Linked DNA regions of Homo sapiens: region 1 is linked to region 2. Evidence: promoter capture Hi-C in 16 types of primary human blood cells and fetal thymus (Javierre and others, 2016). All regions are on one chromosome and are shown on one strand. Each heading gives the region's core, a stretch centred on a gene start or on the middle of the fragment in contact. The rest is flanking DNA. Distances are from core to core; before and after follow the strand shown. Region 1 overlaps IWS1 (interacts with SUPT6H, CTD assembly factor 1). Region 2 holds the start of CYP27C1 (cytochrome P450 family 27 subfamily C member 1).

Region 1 (6,140 bases), core at 1,997-4,496, 260 kb after region 2:
TCTAGTGGCTAGCTATTACCTTCTAATGCCTTTATGCACCTGCTTTTTACAAAGCACTATATCCCACTGTGCTTCTGCGTTTGCTGGAAGTAAATAGTTTGAGAGTTTCTTGTGAGCAGTGTTTTAGTATCTAAACTTCATTATTTTAGCTGTTCAAAGGCTTTTTTGGCCAAAAGTAGTTTTATGTGTTTCTGAAGATCAAGGTGCCAATCCGTATCAGAATAGGATTTCTGAAATTAAAATAATCTAGTTGATAAAACGTTCTTGGGCCTCGTCATCTTGACCTTAAGAGACCTCTCATAATTAAGTCTATAGAGACTATTATCACAAAAATAGAGCAACAAGAAACATAGCTACAAGCTATAATTTTTCTCTCTCCTCTAACTGCTCAACTGCTCTAAGCTTTCGGCATAGTGATTTTCAGTTATATCCATATTTCCTTGAAGACAGTAGTATTTCTTGATCTTTTCTCTGTTATAAGCCCCCATCCCAGAGAAAAATGAAAATCAAAATAATTATCCCAAATAAGAGAAACACATTAATAAGATTTTGTTGGTATTCCATTTCCACCCCAACTGAGGTACTGCAATTCAATTCTGATACGACACACCCAGAGCTGGCATCAGACTCCACGGGTTTAAGAGGTCAGTCCTCCACAATACTGCCCCCACTTCAGATGCAAGCCACAAGTGAGGCATCCAGGCTACTGTCGCTTCTGACCAGCTACAAATTTGGGGTTCTCATAAACCTCTCAGGTTTAAGAACTTGCTGAAATGACTCACAGAACTCAGGAAAGCACTATCCTTCCCTAGAAAACACTATGATTAGTTTTACTACAGAAGATATGAATTAGGAGGGCCAGTCAAATGAAGGGATACATAAGGGAAGGTCTGGGAGGGAAGGCAGAGCTTCTGTGCCCCTGTCCTCATGGAGGGGAATCCTCTCCCTCCCAGCACACCAATGCTTTCACCAACCAAGAAGCGTCATTGAGCTGTGGGGTCCAGAGCTCTTCATCAGGTCCCATTTGGCAGGCATGGTTGATTAAATCAAACAGGTCACTGACTGCGTCTCAATCTCCCGGGTCCTGCTGGCCCAACCCTCTGTAGTAGCTGTTTCTGGTTACCAGCCTCCACCCTAAAGCCCACCATACAGTCACCTCGTTAGCATAACAAGAGACGCTCTATCACTCAGGAAACCACAAGTGTTTTAGACATTCCTTGTCAGCAACCAGGGGCAAAGGCCACACAAATTCCTCATTATACCACAATGAGGGAGGATTGAACCTCTAAGGGTCACAAACCCCTATAATATCATAAGATTTTTTCCCACACAACAAGAAACAATCTTTGCCCCTATTAAGAATGTATCCTCTAAGAAATGAAGAGACAGCCCCCCAAAAACCAGAATGAAATTTTATTGTGTAAAGTTTATAGAAGTATGACTAGTATTCCTTTGTACAAAGTACACAACGGTTTTAAATATAACTGAGAGAAATGTGAGTCCTATGACAACATCTGATACACGCTGAACCATTTACAGACACACTAAAAATGTTTTAAAATATCTTCTTTCTCCAAAGAGTCCATTGCGCATTTCTTAGAGTAGAGATGGGGACACATTCCAGGCAAGGTCACAATGGCATTTTGTTGCCCTCAATGCTGATTTTCACTGCGTGTGCAGATCTGCTTTTTTTCCTTATATCTGTGAACTTTCTCATCTGTTTATCCAGTCGACTGATACCCTTCTTGGAGGTCGCCTGAAACTAAGAGTAAGGGAAAAATTAAAGAGCAAACTACTGAAATACGTAAGTCTAGTTATGTCTTTCATCTTCTTATAACTGAGTTAGCAACCAGAAGAGCTTCTAGCTCTGGAATAACCAGAATGTGTGTTGATGACCTCAAGAACAACAAAGCAAGTATAGATGGTGTTAGAAACGCATATTAAACTCTCTCAGTGAAGAATAATTCTGTTGTCTGTGCTTTATTTTTAATTTTGCTGCAGTCCATGGAGGTCTCCTAGATGGGAGAAAGGGGGGGGGAAACTGAGACTATGATCCTCCCAATTCCATCATGTACATTACGTTTTAACTGCATGCGTTTCCCTTTCGAAGACCAAATGTGGAGCTAGCCGCTTGACATGCACTTTCAAACAGTGCTGGCATAAAAAAGAATGACCTAAAGCAAAGTCAGGTCAGCTGAGAAAAAGCCTTAAGCATAATAAATGAGGTTAGATGATTAGTGAAGTAAACCCCTAAGTGCAGGAGCTCTTGAGTTTTTACACTTGGGGTGAATCCCTGCTCTAATTCAGTAACTTCTGTGACCCTGGGCAAAGCATACCCAGGGTAGGTACTCCTTCCAGAACTGCTGAGAGAAGGAAATGAGATAGTGATGTCAGATCCAAGCACAGAGGCTGAGCACATATAGTCAGTGCTCAAAATAATAGGAGCTATTACTATTTTACTACTTCACAAGCAACTAGATTTACATTAAGTATACTTGACACAAAAAGAATATTAAGTCTTTACCCATTTGCCCTTCATGTTTAAAGGTTTGGTTTGGGGGCTATTTTATATTTTGAAAATACTGCCTTGCAAAGATGTGGTCTCCAAGAAACTGCCATCTTTTAGAAATGCTAGAAAGGTTTGCTGACTCTGTTGTAAAACAATTCAGATGTTTAAGAATGATGACTGCTTAAAAAGAGATGGGTTTTTCTAATTCTTCTCCCCATACATTTACTACTGAATCACCTCTGAAACTCAATTCAAAAGAATGCTAAAATAAGGTAGGGCCTGGGAGACACTCTGGGGTCAGTACCAGCCTGGTGAGCTTTGGTGGAATCTTATCCCACCTGTGGACCCAGCCTCAACTATGACATGAAGCCAGCTGAGCACTAGGCAAGGAACTCTAAGTCATTCTTGACCAAGAGCCATGTTGACCTGTCTTTCTAGGAATATCTCAATTCAAATATTATTCTGTATCGTCTCAATACTTGGCATTCGTACTCTGAGTAAGCATAAAAAGTGTCAGATGAGAAAGAGCTATGCCACCATCACACTATCTCCCAGATTTCCTGGACAGTCCCAAATATCTGACTTCCTTTTAGAGGATGTGCCGTGATCTTAGTACTTGTACTTGGTCCACATCGGAAGCTTTACCTGCTCAAATCTCTGCCAACTACACAATTCCCAGCAGCTTCACACATTAACTGGACTTCCCTTCGCCTACTCCCAGGACCCTCACTAACTGTCTAAGCCCTGATGGATCTGTCTAGCCTCAGCAATCAGGGCACACACGGGCCAGTGGGTTACAAAATATATGACTGGTAGTTGCAGATGCCTACTTACCCCAAGCTTGAAAAGACAGACCAGAGTACCTCATACACCAAGTTCAATGATCTCTCTCCTGATTCATCAAGGGAACGCTACACTTCCTTAGAAATTAAGAGTGTGTGCTACACTGCTTTACCAGAGCAAGGCCAAAAGCAGCTTCAATTATGGTACAACTGTGTGAAGACACAATGCAAAACCACTCAAGAATGCTCACTCAAATGGATTTTTACCATGGTAAGTAAAAAACAAACCCAATAAGGTATAAAAGAATACAATCACAATGTCGCTTGAAAAAAAAACAAAAAACAAAACAAAAACCCAGTAATTGTCTATGCATATGTATGAAAAAAAAAGAAATAATTTAAAATGTTAACATTAAGTTGTGGTGGGATTACAGATGGCATTAATTTTATTTATGCTTTCTGTATTTTTAAAAGTTCATGAAAAAATAGGCATTCCTTTGTCATTTTACTGTTATTTTAGAAGTATTCCACGGAGTAAATGAACATATAAAAAATACAATGTAGCACAGGTTACTACATTATTTAGGAGTAAAAAATCAGAAATCATAAACGAACGAATAAACACATTATATTCATGGCCGGGTGTGGTGGCTCCCGCCCGTAATCCCAGCACGCTGGGAGGTCAAGGCCAGAGGATCGCTTGAGACCAGCCTGAGCAAGATGGTGAAACCATCTCTACAAAGAAAGAAAATACATAATAAAAAAAAAAGCAAATTATATTCAGGATAGACCATTATGCAGCCATTAAAAATGATAAATCGACTAGGTGGTTTAATGAAGGAAAATAACCAAAATTATAATTTGGTCGGGGCGGGGGGTGGTGGGGTGGGGGGGTTGGGCTGTGTGTGTGTGTGTGTGTGCGTGTGCGTGTGTGTGTGTGTGTGTTTTCTAGAGATAGGGTCTCACCTAGGCTGGAGTGCAATGGCATGATTCTAGCTCACTGCAGCCTCAAACTCCTGGGCTCGAGTGATTCTCCTACCTCACCCTCCCAAGTAGCTAGGACTACAGATGTATGCCACCATGCCCGGCTAATTTTTTAATTTTTTGGTAGAGATGGAGTCTTGCTATGTTGTCCAGGCTGATATTTAGTATAATTTTAATTAACGTTATCAGTAGAAAAAAGACAACAAATACATCAAACTGCTTTTGAATGCTAGGACCATGAATAATGTTTCTCTTTGTACTTAAACATTTTCTATAATTATAAAAACTAAGTTCAAGGCATATCTGGAAATACATTTAAAACCTCAAATTGTTAGCCGGGCATGGTGGCTCACACCTGTAATCCCAGCACTTTGGGAGGCCGAGGCGGGCAGATCACTAGAGGTCAGGAGATCAAGACCATCCTGGCTAACACAGTGAAACCCCATCTCTACTAAAAATACAAAAACAAAGTTAGCCAGGTGTGGTGGTGGGCGCCTGCCCTAGTCCCAGCTACTCAGGAGGCTGAGGCGGGAGAATGGTGTGAACCCGGGAGGCAGAGCTTGCAGTGAGCAGAGATTGCACCACTATGCTCCAGCCTGGGCGACAGAGTGAGACACCGTCTCAAAAACAAAAACAAAAACAAAAAACAAAAAACCCTATTTATTTTTTATATTTATTTACATAACTTTGAAAACAAAAATGATACTTAAGACAAAAAGTGTTTCATTGGAAACCCATTTCCATTTCTTTTCCTGGACATGTCTTTTCTAATACTGCTCATTAGCGTCTACAATGTGGAAGCAAGTCCTGAGTGAATATGCAACCCTGCTCCACCTATGGGGAAGTGGGACCAGAACCAGAAACATCAGCACACAGGGACACAGCCCTGGAAACACAACCTCTGCTTTCAAAGCAGATTGGCCACTAAGAGTTTTTATTACCTATTTTCTTTGCCATATTGTAGTTCCCAATTCTCAAAAATAAAAATGTTAAGAGAAATATGAAAGACGGCTAAAAAGAGAGAAGAAACAATGAAAAAGGAGATGGCTCATGCCTGTAATCCCTTTGGGAGGCCGAGGCGGGTGGATCACGAGGTCAGGAGATCAAGACCATCATGGCTAACAGGATGAAACCCCGTCTCTACTAAAAATACAAAAAATTAGCCGAGCATGGTGGCAGGAGCCTGTAGTCCCAGCTAACTGGGAGGCTGAGGCAGGAGAATGGTGTGAACCCAGGAGGCGGAACTTGCAGTGAGTGGAGATCGCACCACTGCACTCCAACCTGGGCGACAGAGCAAGACTCCGTCTCAAAAAGAAAAAGAAAAAGAAAAAGAAAAAGGACAGAAGGGCAAAAAAGAAACAGGTACAGGGGACATGGAGAGGTGGTCAGGGACACGGATATGGGCACAAGAAAGAGGAGGGAGAGAGAGAGGAGGAAGTTCTTGGCACAGAACTAGTCCTTCTCTACCCTCGATTTATTCTCAAGAAATAAGAAAGTACGTTTTGTTTTGATAGTCACTTAATAGCAACATGAACTGGCAGGTAGGAGAGTGGAGTCAGTGGAAACAGCTGCCAAAGCAGGGGTCATGGAGAAGAACCATAGGCAGGCAACACACACACACTGTGTGTGCTCCGCAACAAAGGTGCCATTAGTCTCAAAGCATAGTGGATCAGTGAGTTGGGCTTATGAATGTTCCCAAGTCTTTTCCACTTCTGACCACATTTTGAGTATGTGTTAATCAAATTCATCTCCTAAATATTTAGTATAAGGCTTTATGTAATGAGTTCTCAAATGCATGTTGCTGAGCCACTGACAGCAGGAAACAAGCTACCTCCCACCAGGAAACCACTAACTAGTTTATATGC
Region 2 (6,785 bases), core at 2,494-4,993:
GTTGGGGGTGATAGCTGATGGATATGGGATTTCTTTTTGAGGTCATGAAAATGTTCTACAAGTTGACTGCGGTGATGGTTGTATACTTCAAATGGATGAATTATATGATATGTTAATTATATCTTAAGAAAGCTGTTACTCCCTGCATAAAAAGAAATCACAATAAATGTAAATAGACTAAATTATTCAGTTAAAACACAAAAGTGATGAGCCTCTAACATGGCTCAGCATGACACAGACAGGGCTGGGCTGGGGAAAGTTACTAAGACTCTCTTTGGTATCTGCCCAGCTTTCTCACCACTCCAGCTCTCAATCTCAGAAACAGTGGGCCAGGAGCACTGTCATTTCTCTACTCTTATACTCACTCCTTCTGGAGACCTGAAAATGAAGACATTCAGACTAAACTGGAATGAGTCCATCTCCAAGGGGTCACTTCTGCCTAACAAATAAGTGGCCCCCAAAGAGTTCAGGTCTCTAAAGGGGCCCACTGAAGGAATGACTGGTAACAAGAACTACTGGGAAATGGGCCACTCCTCAAGCAAATCCAGCTACTGAATTGGGTACAATCAGCACAAGGGAACTGGAGGTAGAAATGATACAGATAGTTTTCATCACTTTCTGGTGGTGGGCCATGGAACTATACAGTCAGGCACAGTACTTAGAGTTTGCTTGGATGTTAAGAGCACAGACTCTGGAGTTTGAATCTGGGCTCACAGTTTACTAGCTGAATAACCTTTGGAAGTTAGGTCCCACTATGCCTCAGTTTCCTCACCCAAAAAATGGAGAAATAAGTTTCACGTAAGACTTGAAACTGTGCCTGGCACATGAAAAGAGTTCTAGAAATACTGATCGTTATTATTTGTTATTATTACAGTTTCATAACACTAAGCTCATTTGACCTTATCATAACCCATGAGAGGAATGGCGATTGCTAATCTCCTTTACGGATGAGAAAACTGAGGTGCAGAGAGAATGAGTGACTAGCCCAAGGCTCCACAGGTGGCTGCAGAGGGCCAGCATTGGAGGACATGACTCCTGTTTCGGCCATCCTGCTGCTCTACCACACCCTAAATAGCATCTAGTGACCCAAATTATGATTTCTACTCTGCCAATCACCAGCTGCCTGACCTTAGGCAAGTCGCTTAGGTAACCACCCAACTCTTTCCATCTGTAAAATGAGAGGTGAGCTATGTAGGTGAACACTAAGAGCCCTTGTTTAGCTAACATTCTGTGATTGCAAGGGGAGCGCAAGTGAACTGGATGTGATGGGCCACAGAACAATGAGCAACCTGGAGAGCGGGAAGAGAGGGTTTTTCTAGAACCATGTGTTCGAAATTGGGAGTCCTCAGAGGGGCTGCAGGAAGGTGAGAGTCCCCACAAGTACCATATTTGAGGGTTGGGGTAGTGCCACCTGGAGAGTAAAGGGAAAGAACTTTTTCCTTTATTTCTTTTACTCTCCAGGTCCTGTGTGCGCTTGGTGAGAAGGCAGCAAGTGAGTCAGTTGTGACTCTCTGCTCCGTGCCCCAGGGCCCTGGGTGTGGTGAAGGAAGCTGTCTGAGCAGTGGGCAGGAGGGGCTGAGCTCAGGGTGAGGGCTGGCGGCAGGGGCGGGTGAATGGAAAATACCCATCTGAACTGCCACACATCCTGACTGGATACAGGCTTTAACACGGTCCGTCTCAAAGAAACCTGTGCCCATGGAACAAACTCTGGGTGAGGTATGAGGATAAAAGCAGATGGCAGTAGGGGCGGATAAAAGAAAAATTAAATTACACTTCAGAAAGCAGGCTGTATTGAACCCATCAACAGCAAATAACAAAACACTTTTTACTGTATTTGAAAGTTGCCATCCTGATATCTTATCAGATCCTACAAAGAAAATCATTTTTGAGCCCTCTAAGCATTGGGGTGGGGGTGGCGGTTTGGAACTGTATAGGGTTGGCGTGGCGGACTTGAGGAGGGACGGTTGGGACTTCCTGGCATTAAAATTAAATTAAATTTTAATTCCCGGCCGAATTAAAATTGCTCCTCGCACGCCCGTTTTTCCATTAATGAGGGTTGGGGCTTCTCCCTCACGTTCATTGACTGAATGGCTGATGGAACGAATGAATGACTGAAGCCCAGGTGGGTAGTTAGAAGAGGCTTCGATGGAGAAGGGTCTCGAAAGACCGGAACTCTGGGCAGAAGGACAGGCCTGGGTGGGAGGAGAAGGGGGCGTTCTCGGAAGACACCAAAAGCCCCCATACCAGAAATAACAGTGCGTGCTGGGCCGGGCACCCGGGGAGGCGGACGATGGGCGAAGGCATCGGAGGGCGCCGCCGCGGCTCGGGTGCAGTGCCCCTGCCACGAAGGGCGCAACGGAGGTGGGCGTGGGAAGGACAGCACTCAGGCTCCAAGTGGGAAGCGTGCGGAATTCGCCGGCCCCAACGCCCTAGCGGGTGGCTGGGACCCCTGGGTTCCTCCCACGTCCCTGCCTCCAGTCCCGGCGCGAACTCCAGGTGTCGCCCCCAACTCCGGCTTAGAGCCTACGGCACCCCGAGCCTCCGAGCCTCCGTCCCCTCTTCCCCCGCCATTACAAAATACAAAAAGGACTAGAAATGAATACACACGGTCTCGGCCACCTAAGGACACCGAGCTCCGCAGAGCCTAGAGGAGCTAGGGAACCTAGCGCTCCCCTCGGGCCGGCCCCAGGCAGCAGCCCCCCTCAGCCCCAACTCCGCGGGTCCCGCCAGCTCTCCACTCCCAGGCCCCGGCGGCGTCCACCAGGCGCCCGCTGCCCCTCCCCAAGTCTCCTCCTCCGGGACCTCAGCCCTGGTGCCCTCCCCGCAGTCCCATTCCTGGTTTCCCTTCGCGGCGCCCCCTCCCCAGGTTCCCCAACCAGGCAATCCCTGCCTGGGTCCCTCCCCGGGACCAGTCCCTGGAGACCCTGCCCGCCGCCTCTCTCGGGCTACCACTCTCCGAAACTCCATCCCTGACTCCCCTCCCCGCTACCTCCTCCCCAGGGGTCCCGGCTGGGGCCCCTCCAGGGGACCCCTCCCTGCCGCCACCTCCCGAGACACCCATTTCCCCCGCCTCTTCCCAGCCGTTCCTTTCTGGCCCCGTTCCTCAGCTCCCTCTGCCTGCTGCCCCTCTCCGGGGTCCGCTTCCCGAAGACCCCTCCCCAACGCCCCCGCCCCGCTCCCGGTTCCTGCCTCCTCCACCCCGGATCGCCTTTCCGGCGTCCTCTCCCCAGCGCCCCTTCCTGCGAACCTTAACCGGACAACCCCAGTCCAGCTCCCCCAACCCACCGCGGCGCCCAGTGCCCGGGGATCCCTGCCCGCCGCCCCTCCCTGGGACTCCCCAACCCCGCGCCCCTCCCTGGCGCCCTCCCGCCCGCGCCGTCAGCCTTCTGGGCAGCAGCCCGGGCTGGCTCCCTCCCGGGGCGGCGCGCGCTACCTGGATCTCGTGGATGCGGCTGAAGCCGTCCCTGCAGAAGAACTCCGCCAGGTTGGCGAGGGTCCTCGGCCCCGGCATGGCGGCGAGGCTCCGGGGACCCTCGGCTCGGCCCCCTCCCGGCGGCGACCCCGGCCGCCCGGCGCCTTTGTCCTCGGCCCGCGCCCCCGCCGGGAGCCGTGCGCCCGCGGGTTGAGGCCGCCGCGGGGCCCCGCCGCCCAGGAGCCCACCCCGCTCGGGCGCCGGCCGCAGCCCGGCTCTCAGGATCCGCGCCAGCAGGGCCATGGCGCTCGTCTGCATCGGCTTGTTTGTCTGAGCAACTTTGTTTCGGGGGCTGCTCTTTGGGTTGCTGTTTCCTGCGTCTTAACTTGTCAGAGCAGTGCTTCTCCGTACTCCTGCCGCCGGGGCGTCAGTTTACACAGACCCTTATTAAAGGCTCCCTCCCCTGGGGCTGGGGAAAAGGCTGTGATTAGACTGCAAGAGAATGAGGCTATTATTATTTCTTCACATCATATTAATTCACACTTAAGCGTTCCTTGAAACCACCAAGTTTTAAGGTCAACCCCACTTCCAACCATGGCCAAAAAAAGAAAAGTCTACGGGGATCTTGTAAATTATTACCGTCCTTCGAAATGACTACTGAAGGTATACTGAAGAAATCTTTGGTCTTTTTTGCATTTTAGAAGCAGTTCTTTATGGTTTCAACTTAAATTATTGTAACTCAACTTTCAAAGGGGGGGAAAAAAGTGAGACGATTTTGCATGTAGTTCCTACTGTTGTAAAATGACCACATTATTATCTTGCCACAAGCTTTCTTAAAGACAATCACAGTCGTTTACGATGGCTTTCCTCGGGCTCATCGCTTTTATTCCGCACACCATTGGAAGCAGTGAGGACTAGGTGAGGGTGAGCGACTTTGAGCATGGGGCGTTTATCTGGTCCCTCACAAGGACGGGTCCTGTTGCACAAGGCTTGGGGAAGAGAAGCCACCTCCATGCCGAGGCGAGGAGAGGAGTCCGCCAACCTAGACTCAGAGCCCAGTGCCTGGCTGCACAAAGAAGTGGCCGCACAGGGAGGGATGGAGCACGGGAAAGGCCAGAGGTGTGCCATGTGGTTTCAAGGAAGGGAACTTTTTCCTAGTCAGTAGTTAAACTGCTCGCTGAGTTACATTATTTGAAGATTTCATACCGTTGGTACTCATGCATCTAAACGTAAAAAATAAGATTTTTTTCCGTTTACAACGTATTGTTACTAAGCATTTTTTTTTTTTTTTTTTTTTTTTTTGAGACAGTCTCGCTCTGTCACCAAAGCTGGAGTGTAATGGCGCGATTTCGGCTCAGCAACCTCCGCCCCCAGGGTCCTAGCGATCCTCTTACCTCAGCCTCCCGAGTAGCTGGGATTACTGACGCTGTAATCTTGAAAAAAAAAAAATGCTGCCGCGCCCGGCCAACATTTATTTTTTAAGAGCAGAGAGGGAGGTTCAGGCCTGTAGTCCCAGAACTTTGAGAGGCCGAGGTGGACGGATTACTTGAGTTCAGGAGTTCGAGACCAGCCTGGCCAACATGGTGAAACCCCATCTCTACTAAAAATATAAAAAATTAGCCAGGCGTGGTGGCACGCGCCTGTAATCCCAGCTACTCGGGAGGCTAAGGCAGGAGAATCGTTTGAACCCAGGAAGTGGAGGTTGCAGTGAGCTGATCTCGCCATTGCACTCCAGCCTGGGTGACAGCAAGACTCCATCTCAACAACAACAACAAAAAAGAGCAGGCCGGGCGCGGTGGCTCACGCCTGTAATCCCAGCACTTTGGGAGGCCGAGGCAGGCGGATCACGAGGTCAGGAGATCGAGACCATCCTGGCTAACACGGTGAAACCCCGTCTCTACTAAAAGTACAAAAAAATTAGCCTGGCGTGGTGGTGGGCGCCTGTAGTCCCAGCTACTCGGGAGGCTGAGGCAGGAGAATGGCGTGAACCCGGGAGGTGGAGCTTGCAGTGAGCCGAGATCTTGCCACTGCACTGCAGCCTGGGCGACAGAGCGAGACTCCGTCAAAAAAAAAAAAAAAAAGAGCAGAGAGGGGTCTGGCAGTGTTGCCCAGGCTGGAGTGCAGTGGCTATACACAGGCACTATCACTGGGCACTACACCTTCCAACTTCTGGGCACTACACCTTCCAACTTCTGGGCTCAAGCCATCTCCAACCTCAGCCTCCCAAGGAGCTGGGAGTACGGGCACATGCCACCATGCCCAGATAAAAATATTTTATTTTATTTTTTAGACACTGGGTCTCACTATGTTGCCCAGGCTGCCCTTGAACTCCTGGGCTCAAGCGATCCTCCCCCTGAGTAACTGGCATTACAGGTGCAGGCCACCGGCTCAGCTAAATATTTTATTTTTAATGAGTAGTTTATACCTTTACAACTCTGTAAAATCTACACTGCATTTGAATAATTGAAGTATCACGTAAGTGACGCAAAGAAGGCTATAGTTACTCAACTTACAGAATTTGATTAATAACACCAGGTGCGGTGGCTCACGCCTGTAATCCCAACAATTTTGGAGGCCACAGCAGGAGGATTGCTTCAGCCCAGGAGTTCAAGACCAGCCTGGGCAACATAGCAAGACCTGGATACTACAAAAAATAAAAATAAAAAAATTAGCTGGGTGTGGTGGTGTGTGCCTATAGTCCCAGCTACTCAGGAGGCTGAGGCAGGAGGATTGCTTGAGCCCAGAAAGTCAAGACTTCAGTGAGCCATTATCATGCCACTGTGCTCCAGCCTGGGCAACAGAGCAAGACCCTGTCTGTAAAAAAAGAAAAGAATTTGATTAATAAGTACTCAGCAACTCTTATTTATTTATTTATTGAGACGGAGTCTGGCTCTGTCGCCCAGGCAGGAGTGCAGTGGAGCAATCTTGGCTCACTGCAAGCTCCGCCTCCCAGGTTCACGCCATTCTCCTGCCTCAGCCTCTGGAGTAGCTGTGACTACAGGCACCCGCCACCACGCCCGGCTAATCTTTTGTATTTTTAGTAGAGACAGGGTTTCACTGTGTTAGCCAGGATGGTCTCGATCTCCTGACCTCGTGATCCGCCTGCCTCAGCCTCCCAAAGTGCTGGGATTACAGGCTTGAGCCACTGCACTCGGCCCTTGCAACTCTTAATTATAAGGCATGATAGCTGCAAAGTACTCAGTAAGACTTTGATCCTGCCTTTAGGAGGCCATAACCTATTTGAAGAATAAAACAGGTACACAAATACAAGCCAGATTACTATAAGTGTCACAAAACTGGACTGAATATGATTGGAATTTGTGGCAAGAAGCGATCACATCTAGTTATAGGGTAGGATGGAGCAGTGCAAAAG

What was found. The method cuts DNA at HindIII sites, captures the fragments that hold promoters and counts their contacts. A CHiCAGO score of 5 or more calls a contact.
Region 1: a contact is called between a fragment that was not itself captured here and the fragment with the promoter of CYP27C1 in region 2, in 1 of 17 cell types (endothelial precursors). The highest score is 5.2, in endothelial precursors.

The regions. Positions count from the first base shown.
Region 1 is chr2:127,479,414-127,485,553 of GRCh38, forward strand. IWS1 (interacts with SUPT6H, CTD assembly factor 1) reads right to left here. Exons shown (of 14, transcript NM_017969.3): 14 at 1,399-1,762. The coding sequence ends at 1,631. Among named protein-coding and RNA genes, the nearest start is that of IWS1, 44 kb to the right of the region's middle. RefSeq lists an enhancer at 394-1,345. The HindIII fragment of the contact is 201 bases long and covers 3,147-3,347 here.
Region 2 is chr2:127,216,556-127,223,340 of GRCh38, forward strand. CYP27C1 (cytochrome P450 family 27 subfamily C member 1) reads right to left here and starts at 3,744. Exons shown (of 9, transcript NM_001367502.1): 1 at 3,434-3,744. The coding sequence starts at 3,715. The HindIII fragment of the contact is 10,532 bases long and covers 1-4,238 here.